Regions from separate parts of the Homo sapiens genome. Here region 2 is linked to region 1. Evidence: promoter capture Hi-C in human tissues and cell types (Jung and others, 2019). All regions are on one chromosome and are shown on one strand. Each heading gives the region's core, a stretch centred on a gene start or on the middle of the fragment in contact. The rest is flanking DNA. Distances are from core to core; before and after follow the strand shown.

What was found. Contacts are between HindIII fragments. The study calls those that stand out against the background at their distance.
Region 2: a contact is called between a fragment that was not itself captured here and the fragment with the promoter of CCL20 in region 1, in 1 of the 25 tissues and cell types used here (stomach).

Annotation. Positions count from the first base shown.
Region 1 is chr2:227,811,591-227,815,858 of GRCh38, reverse strand. CCL20 (C-C motif chemokine ligand 20) reads right to left here and starts at 2,017. Exons shown (of 4, transcript NM_004591.3): 1 at 1,872-2,017; 2 at 291-405. The coding sequence starts at 1,947. The HindIII fragment of the contact is 20,627 bases long and covers 1-4,268 here.
Region 2 is chr2:228,662,666-228,667,262 of GRCh38, reverse strand. No RefSeq gene overlaps it. Among named protein-coding and RNA genes, the nearest start is that of LINC01807, 54 kb to the right of the region's middle. The HindIII fragment of the contact is 4,026 bases long and covers 1,192-4,597 here.

The sequences.
Region 1 (4,268 bases), core at 768-3,267:
ACTTTAATAGCCTTAGAAAGTGATTTTTGCCCTATACTAGTTCCGTTTGACCAAAAAAAATTTTTAAAAAAGGTTTTGCCTTATTCCAGTCCTGTTTAAAGTGAACTTTAAAGTAGATATGTACTAAGACAAAGCTATCTTTGCCACATCATTTCTTTCTCTTTAAAATAAGATCTTATGTTCAAAACATCAGTAATTTCTGAATGAAACTCTAAAAAGGCAAACATTTTTAAAACTGAAGTTTCTAGGTATTCCTGATACAACTGAATTAAAATCAATTAATAACTTACATGATAGCATTGATGTCACAGCCTTCATTGGCCAGCTGCCGTGTGAAGCCCACAATAAATTTAGGATGAAGAATACGGTCTGTGTATCCAAGACAGCAGTCAAAGTTGCTTGCTGCTAAAAAAAAAAAAAAGTGAAAGGTATTGGATCCACATGAATAAACTTATCCTGTGATTGGTATTATAAAACTACCTTAAGTTGTGAAAAATCTAGTGAATCTCATGTATATGACGAATAAACCACTTAGAGGAGGAGTTTCAATGTCTTGGAAACCTTTGTAAGGTCGTTGAGAACCAATCTAACATAGTTTACAGTTCTTTGAAAAAACAGTTTGTGTGCCGAGAAGTTTTGGTTCAATAATAGAATTGAGAAACACAGGACTTCTCATAAGTGGGATATCTTCAGTAAGAAATACAAATTGACAATATTTCATTTCAGTTCACTATAATCATTCAAGAATATGAGCAGCCCCTTCCCTACTGCTTGAAGGAACCCTTATGTAGATAAACTTCCAAAAGCAGAAAATGAATAAATTGGCAGATTTTAATCTATTATCTGGCTACTAAGTATTGAGAAATAGAGCTACAAAGGGAAATATGATTTATAGGAGTGAAAACACTTTGAAATTGTCCTATTAATTAATAGGAATGTTTAATTTTGTTCATAAAAGTTCAACATGTGGTTGGGCATGGTGGCTCATGCCTGTAATCCCAGCACTTTGGGAGGCCAAGGAGGAAGGATTGCTTGCCTCCAGGAGTTCGAGACCAGCCTGGGCAACACAGTGAAACCCTGTCTCTACAAAAAAAAAAAAAATGTAAAAAAATTAGCCAGGTGAGTGGCACACGGCCGTGGTCCCTGTTATTCAAGAGGCTGAGACTGGAGGTTCACTTGACTCCAGGAGGTTGAGGCTGTAGTGAGCTGTAATCATGCCACTGCACTCTGGCCTGGGTGATGAAGTTAGACCCTGCCTCAGAAAAAAAAAAAAATTCAATGTGCATTTTTAGGAATGCACCTGTTGCTAAAAGTGTTGTGTGACTATTGAGCAATAAAGCAATACTTGGACATTCCCGAGTCAGATTACAACATGCTGTAAGGTAAGGGATTAATGTTATTTTAAAGTTGGCAAGCAATGTCCCCCATGCCTTGTGGGGATGTTGATGTCAGGTATTATAATCTACTTCTAAAGGATGAGTTTTGAACTTTACCAAAACTATTAAGTTGGGAGGTACGAAAGTTGGGGACACAGGAGGATTCTCTACATTTCAAAATGGCCCCATCTACTGGTAACATTACACACTTTATATCACTCCCAGAAACATCACTTTGGCTTTATCCTGAAGTTTAGGGATCTCTAAGAGCCCACCACTCCCCAAATCTGCTGAGATTGACAGCAGAGAGGAAAGCCTGATCCGCAGCAGTAACTCTTCTCTCCTCCACTCCACCATGGGCAGACAACTTCCATCACTACCTCTTGTATACTTCCTAACAGTTTTCCATCCCTTAGGGACCCCCAGTTGAGCTCAAGGCTAAAAGGAAAATGAAAATAGTCTTTCTTCTGTGCTAGCGGAAAGAGCGACACTTACCTTCTGATTCGCCGCAGAGGTGGAGTAGCAGCACTGACATCAAAGCAGCCAGGAGCAAACTCTTGGTACAGCACATGGTTTTTAGCTCAAAGAACAGATCTGCTCAGTGTTGAGTACCCAGTTCTTTGGGAGTGCTGTTATATTCTGACAGCAGCCTGGGATGGCCCTATTTATAGCAAATATTGGGAATGTACACAGAAGGCGTGTTGCCACATGGGGTTTTCCCCATTGATCAACTGGCCCCATCATGTCATCATAAAAAAAACCCGCAAGGAAAACTTCCTGCTTTTTCCTCATATTGGGAAGGTGCGAAGGTCAGGGTGGGGGACAGGAAGTTGAGAAGGGGAGAATCCTGTTAAATTCTTTGTATTTGCAAAGAGCAAAAGCAGCTCAGCCCTGTGACCCAGAAAAGACTTTCATCCAGTTTTAACTTAATCATTTTTGTGTCTGAAAATAGAGGATTAACAGCGATACAAAGGTCAGCCCCACACAGGAACATTCCAGAACTCCTATTGTTACACCCTATTTGCTTTCCAGAACCAGTCAAGGAGGAGGGGGAGGAGGAGCAGGTGGGATGCCAGGCATACTCTGCTACACATTTACCATCACATGGTTGAGGTTCAGCTGTCATGAAGAAGACCCTGAGTTGCTAGACTAACATTCAGAGCAGGTACTATAACAGTGCTACAGTACTGTCCGCAGTTAGAGTGGAAAATATCAGCCTTTAAGTAAGGCTCAAACCTCAGCTTCACCTTGATTTAATGTCAACTCTTCTAAGAATCTTATACATTCACATGGCTTTAATCAATATTGCAGTTCAGAAAATAATCCTTACCTACCTTTAACTCTCCATGATGATGTACTAATATAACTCAATATAGAGCCTCAGAATTGTTGAGGAAAGAAAACCTATCAGCAGTAGCTAGTCAGCACAGCAAATGTCAAATAACAGTACTAATGATGATAATGTAATATGAATCCCTAACCTAAGGCAGTATAAGAACTCTCCACTAGACCCAAATAGGTTGAAAGTAAAAGGATCAAAAGAAAGGTATACCAAACAGTAAACAAAAGAGAACTGGAGTTGGTGATGCCTATATCAGACAAAATAGATTTTTTTTTAATGTTACCGGAAATAAAAAGGGACTTTCATGGTAACACAAAATTAACCCATTGGGAAGATGTAAAACCTATAACCATATATATACCTAACAGTAGCACCCCAAACTACAGAAAGCAAAAACTGACAGAATTGAAGGGAAGAATAGGAAATTTTATTTTATTTTATTATTATAATTTCTTTTGAGACAGAATTTTGCTCTTGTTGCCCAGGCTGGAGTGCAGTGGCACCATCTCGGCTCACTACAACCTCCGCCTCCTGGGTTCAAGCGATTCGCCTGCCTCAGCCTCCTGAGTAGCTGGGACTACAGGCACGTGCCACCACGCCCAGCGAATTTTTGTATTTTTAGTAGAGACGTGGTTTCACCATGTTGCCCAGGCTGAACTCCTGACCTCATTACAGGCATGAGCCACCGTGCCCAGCAGAATAGGAAATTTAACAATAAAAGTTGACAGCTTTGGTACCACATTTTCACTAATTAATAAAATTTAGGCAGAAGATCCACAAGAAAATAGAAGACTTGAACAACACTATAAGCCAAATAGACTTAGCAGGCATCGAAGGACTACTCTATCCAACATCAACAGAATAGTTGCACATGGAATGTTCTCTAGGATAAAGCATATGGTAGGTTATGGAACAAGTCTCAGTAAATGTAAACCGACTGAAATCACATAAAGTATACATTCAAACCACAATGGAATTAAATCAGAAATCAGTAACAGACAGAAAGGAAACCACATATTCCTAAATAACCAATGTGTCTGGCCAGGAGTGGTGGCTCATGCCTGTAATCCTAGCATTTTGGGAGGCCGAGGTGGGTGGACTGCCTGAGGTCAGGAGTTCGAGACCAGACTGGCCAACATAGTGAAACCCTGTCTCTACTAAAAATACAAATATTAGCCGGGTGTGGTAGTCCATGCCTGTAATCCCAGCTACTTGGGAGGCTGAGGCAGGAGAATCGCATGAGCCCAGGAAGCAGAAGTTACGGCGAGCCGAGATCACGCTACTGCCCTCTAACCTGGCCAACAGAGACTCCATCTCAAAGGAAAAAACAACAACAACAACAACAATGTGTCAAAAGAAAAGTCACTAGAGAAAGTAGAAAACAACTTTGAAATGTAAAAAAAAGTCCACAACATATCAAAACTTATAGGATGTAGCAAAAGCAGTCCTCAGAAGGAAACTTATAGCTGTAAACACTCACATTAAAAAAAAAAAAAAAGAAACATCTCAAAACAATAACCCAAACTTCTACCTTAAGAAACTAGAGAAAA
Region 2 (4,597 bases), core at 1,955-4,454, 850 kb before region 1:
TAGAAGAATATTCATTTATTCAATTAATACAATGCTTATTGATTGAGCCTTACTACATATTAACCACTGATAATAGTCAGCAAAATAGTGTCTCTGCTTTTATGAAGCTTAGATTATAGTAGGGGAGATGTACAATAAATCAGTAAATACATAAGACGGGCCAGGAGTGGTGGCTCAAGCCTGTAATCCCAGCACTTTCCGAGGCCAAGGCAGGTGGATAACAAGGTCAGGAGTTTGAGACCAGCCTGGCCAATGTGGTGAAACCCCGTCTTTACTAAAAAAATACAAAAATTAGCCAGGCATGGTGGCATGAGCCTGTAATCCCAGCTACTCGGGAGGCCGAGGCAGGAGAATTGTTTGAACCCAGGAGGCAGAAGTTGCAGTGAGCTGAGATCGCACCACTGTACTCCAGCCTGGGTGACAGAGCAAGACTCCGACTCAGAAAAAAAAAAAAAAATTATTATATATATGACATGAAAGCTGGTGATAGGTGCTATCACATGTTTAAGATGTCAAGGAAACAGAGTTATGGAAGAGGCATTACCATTTTCCATTTTATAAACAAGAGTCAGCGAAGACCTTTAGAAAACAAGTGGCATTTGATCTAAGAAGGAAATAAGAGAGTAGGGCACAGAGAAGACCAGATGAAGAGCTTTGCAGGCAAGAGTGTACCTCGTGTACTGGAGGTATTGCAGGGAGGCTCAGGAGGCTCAGAAGGCTCAGAGTGGAGTGACCCAGGAGGAGGGTGGCCAGATGAGAGCGGAGATGTATCTCTGGAGGGGATTGAGGTTGGGATCACAAAAGGGCTGGTTGGTTATGATAAACACTTTGAATTTTATTCTGAGGTAGATGGAAAGCCATTAGGTGGCTTTGAGCAAAGGAATGGAATGACCTATTTTATGTTCTAAAAGCATAATTCTGGTTGCGAGGTGGAAAACAGAGTGTAGTGGGACATAGAAATGGCAAGATTCAGTGAGGTACAAAGAAGGCATGGACTTATACAACCTAGTCTCATGGTGTAGTTGCAAATAAGATTCAGTGGGATGATTTATAGTTCTGGCCTTCTTACTGTCCTGCAGAGAGACTGGCTTAAGTGGAATACAGTTGAAAGCATCATGACAAAGTCTCCAATAGTAGGACCCAGGCCCTGCATTGCTCTACATTTTTATAGAATAAGGGAGTCCAGCTAACCATAGTCAGCTAAGTAGCAAGAAGAGTTTATTGGACGGTGAAATAGCCTGCAAGAAAGGCTGACCCTCTAGAGCTCTGTCTCTGGAAGCATCTTTTTTTTTTTTTCCTAGGAATTTTTTCTTTTTTTAAATTTTACTTTAAGTTCTGGGTGGTTTGCTGCACCTATCAACCCGTTATCTAGGTTTTAAGCCCAGCATGCATTAGGTATTTGTCCTAATGCTCTCCCTCCCCTTCTCCCAACACCCCCGACAGACAGGCCCCGGTGTGTAATGTTCCCCTCCCTGTGTCCATGTGTTCTCATTGTTCAGCTCCCACTTATGAGTGAGAACATCCTGTGTTTGGTTTTCTATTCCTGTGTTAGCATCTTGTTTTCTCATTGAGTTAACTCAGACTTGCTACTGAAAAAAAACAAAATGAGACTCCAGAGCCTTCTACTTACTTGTATCTCTCCTCAATCAATTAGGAGACTATTTACTAGTCCAGGCAGAACAGCATAAAATGTGAGAACCTGATGAAGGTGGAGAGACTGATGGGAGTGATTTGAAAAGGAAGGCTGGGGTCAGATTGCAGAGGGCTCACTTGTCATGATGAGCTGTTTGAGCTATATTATTCAGAAACATCGCTAGACTAGGCTGGACACAACAACCACCCACAGCATCCTGGGGCATCAGAGCAGCAGTCAGCCAAGCTGCTGACAGCTCAGTATGCTGAATACACAAAAAGATGCACAAATTGTGTATTGCTATGCAAATGCAAGCAATGATGAGAAGTGTGACCATTTTTGAATTTTCTCTAGATCACTCTAAGTCCTCAAATTTAATGTTTCCTATGTCTTAGCAGCATACTTAGTTTAAAGATATCTTGAAAAGATAATACAGTTTTAATCAGAAAGGCTGCAGAGGGCAATGGATAGAGAAATGATCTGAAAACAGTTTGTAGACCACCAGTCCCACCCCTGGGTGAGTGCATGTGTGAAGTCAGAGTCACAGGTGTGAGTAAACACACACCACAGGATGCCCAAGTTGAACTCATGGCCTAGAACAGAGAGTTTTTGCTGGTGAGTGGTGGGGGTAAGCTGAAAAGCTTTTAGGGAGAAACAGACGCAGGGTTCTGTGAATGTTGGAGTATTGGGGACCAATGACAGCATCATAAGATAGACATCAGCAGCCCCCACTATGGCTGTTCAAAGATTTCGAGAAAATTTTGAAACCGTGCCCCCTAGGAGTTAAGGAACCGATGACTAAGTTGTTTGGTTTACAAGGTAGCAGATAAGAAAAGAAACAATTTTCTGGACGCTGAAACTCAAACTATGCTCCCAAAGACTAAGAAACCAGTAACTCACCGAAATTCTTGAGTTGACAAGATAGCAGAGAAGAAAAGAAACAACCTGCTAAGATGCTGAAACTACATTAAAACTTAATGGCTTAAAACAACCATTTACTTAGTTCACAATTTTGTGGATCAAGAATTTGGAGGGGATTGGCTGAATGGTTCATATCTTTTCTACTTGTGAGATCAAGAAAAAACTGGCTGAAATCAGTTGAAGACTAAGATGGCTGACTGGAGTTTGCATAGAACAAACTTGATTGTGCACGTGACCCATGGATTTGCATGAAGTGGTAAGTGCTCATGCCCAAGGACTTGGCCACATCCTCCCTTTCTTCCACCAATCACGTGCTAATCCAAATATCCATCCTCTAATCCATCCTCTAATTCTTGTCTTTTTTTCTTTTCTTTTTTTTTTTTTTTTTTTTTGAGATGGAGTATCACTCTGTCACCCAGGCTGGAGTGCATTGGCGCAGTCTTGGTTCACTGCAACCTCCACCTTCTGGGTTCAAGCGATTCTTCTGCCTCAGCCTCCTGAGTAGCTGGGACTGCAGGCATGTACCACCATGCCCAGCTAATTTTTGTATTTTTAGTAGAGAAGGAGTTTCACCATATTGGTCAGGCTGGTCTTGAACTCCTGACCTCATGATCCGCCTGCCCCAACCTCCTGAAGCGCTAGGATTACAGGCGTGAGCCACCGTGCCTGGCTCCTCTAATTCTTTTCTAATAAAATTTTTGCCTTAAAAACAGCATGGGGAGACAGATTAGAGCTTGACACTCGTGTCTCCTTATGAGTTGACTTGCAACATAGAACTTTCTTTTCAAAAAAAAAAAAAATGAAAACAACAACAAAACAAAACAACCCAAAACCCAAAGTCATAGTACTGGCTTCCAGCACATTGGGCATTAGCTCTATAACAATTTATTGAATTAAGTTAATTAAGTTCATTCCAAAAGTTCTGTGATTTCTTAAGGACATCTCATTCTCATGGCTGCCTCTGTTGACACTCCTGCTTCCTCCCCTAAGTTTTTGTCCTGCAATATACCAAGTCCAGATAGGAAACTTGGCCCCTTATCAATTTTACACACAGCTCACATATACACACTCCAAGGTACTTGGGAATCAGCAAGAATTTACTGTGGCCCTGAGATCTCAGAGAAGAGTAATTTTTGCATTACACAGCAAAACGAACTTAAAAATCAATTCTGGTTTACAATTGCTGAGTAAAAACTACACTAAAACTTAATGGTTTATACAACCATTTACTTAGTTCGCAATTTTGTGGATCAAGAATTTGAAAGAGATTGGCTGAATCATTCATATCTGTTCCACATGGCATCCTTGGCGGGTCTGTAAAAAGACAATTGGTTAACAATAAATGTATGAATCTATTTCTTTACATTCTTTTCAGTTGACCTATATGCCTACCTTATTGTCAATAACACTGTCTTAATTATTATAAGTGATAAACCAGGTAATGAAAGCTATCAACTTTGTTATTTTTAAAAATCGTTTTGTCTCTTTTAGGTATCCCCATTTAAAAAAAAAATAGAATCAGTTTGTCAACTTCTACAAAGAAATCCTGCTGGGATTTTTATTGGAGTTGCATTGACTGTATAGATCAGGAGTGTCCAATCTTTTGGCTTCCCTGGACCACATTGGGAGAAGACTTGTCTTGGGCCACATGTAAAATATGCTAGCACTAACAATAGCGGATGAGCTAAAAAAAATTGCAAAAAATCTCATAATATTTTAAGAAAGTTTATGAGTTTGTGTTGGGCCACATTCAAAACTCTCCTGGGTCACATGTGGCCTGCGGACCACAGGTTGTACAAGCTTGGTATAGATCAATTTGGAGAGAATTGACACATTAACATTACCTAAGCTTCTGGCCTATAAACACGTTATATATTTTTATTTAGGTAGTTATTTAACTTCTCTCAGCAATATTTTGCAGATTTAAGGGTATCGATCTTGCATACATTTGATAGATTATCCCTAACTATATCAGTTTTCTTTCGAGGCTGTTGAAATGGTATTTTCATTACTATTGCTAACGTTTGTTGTTAATATATAGGA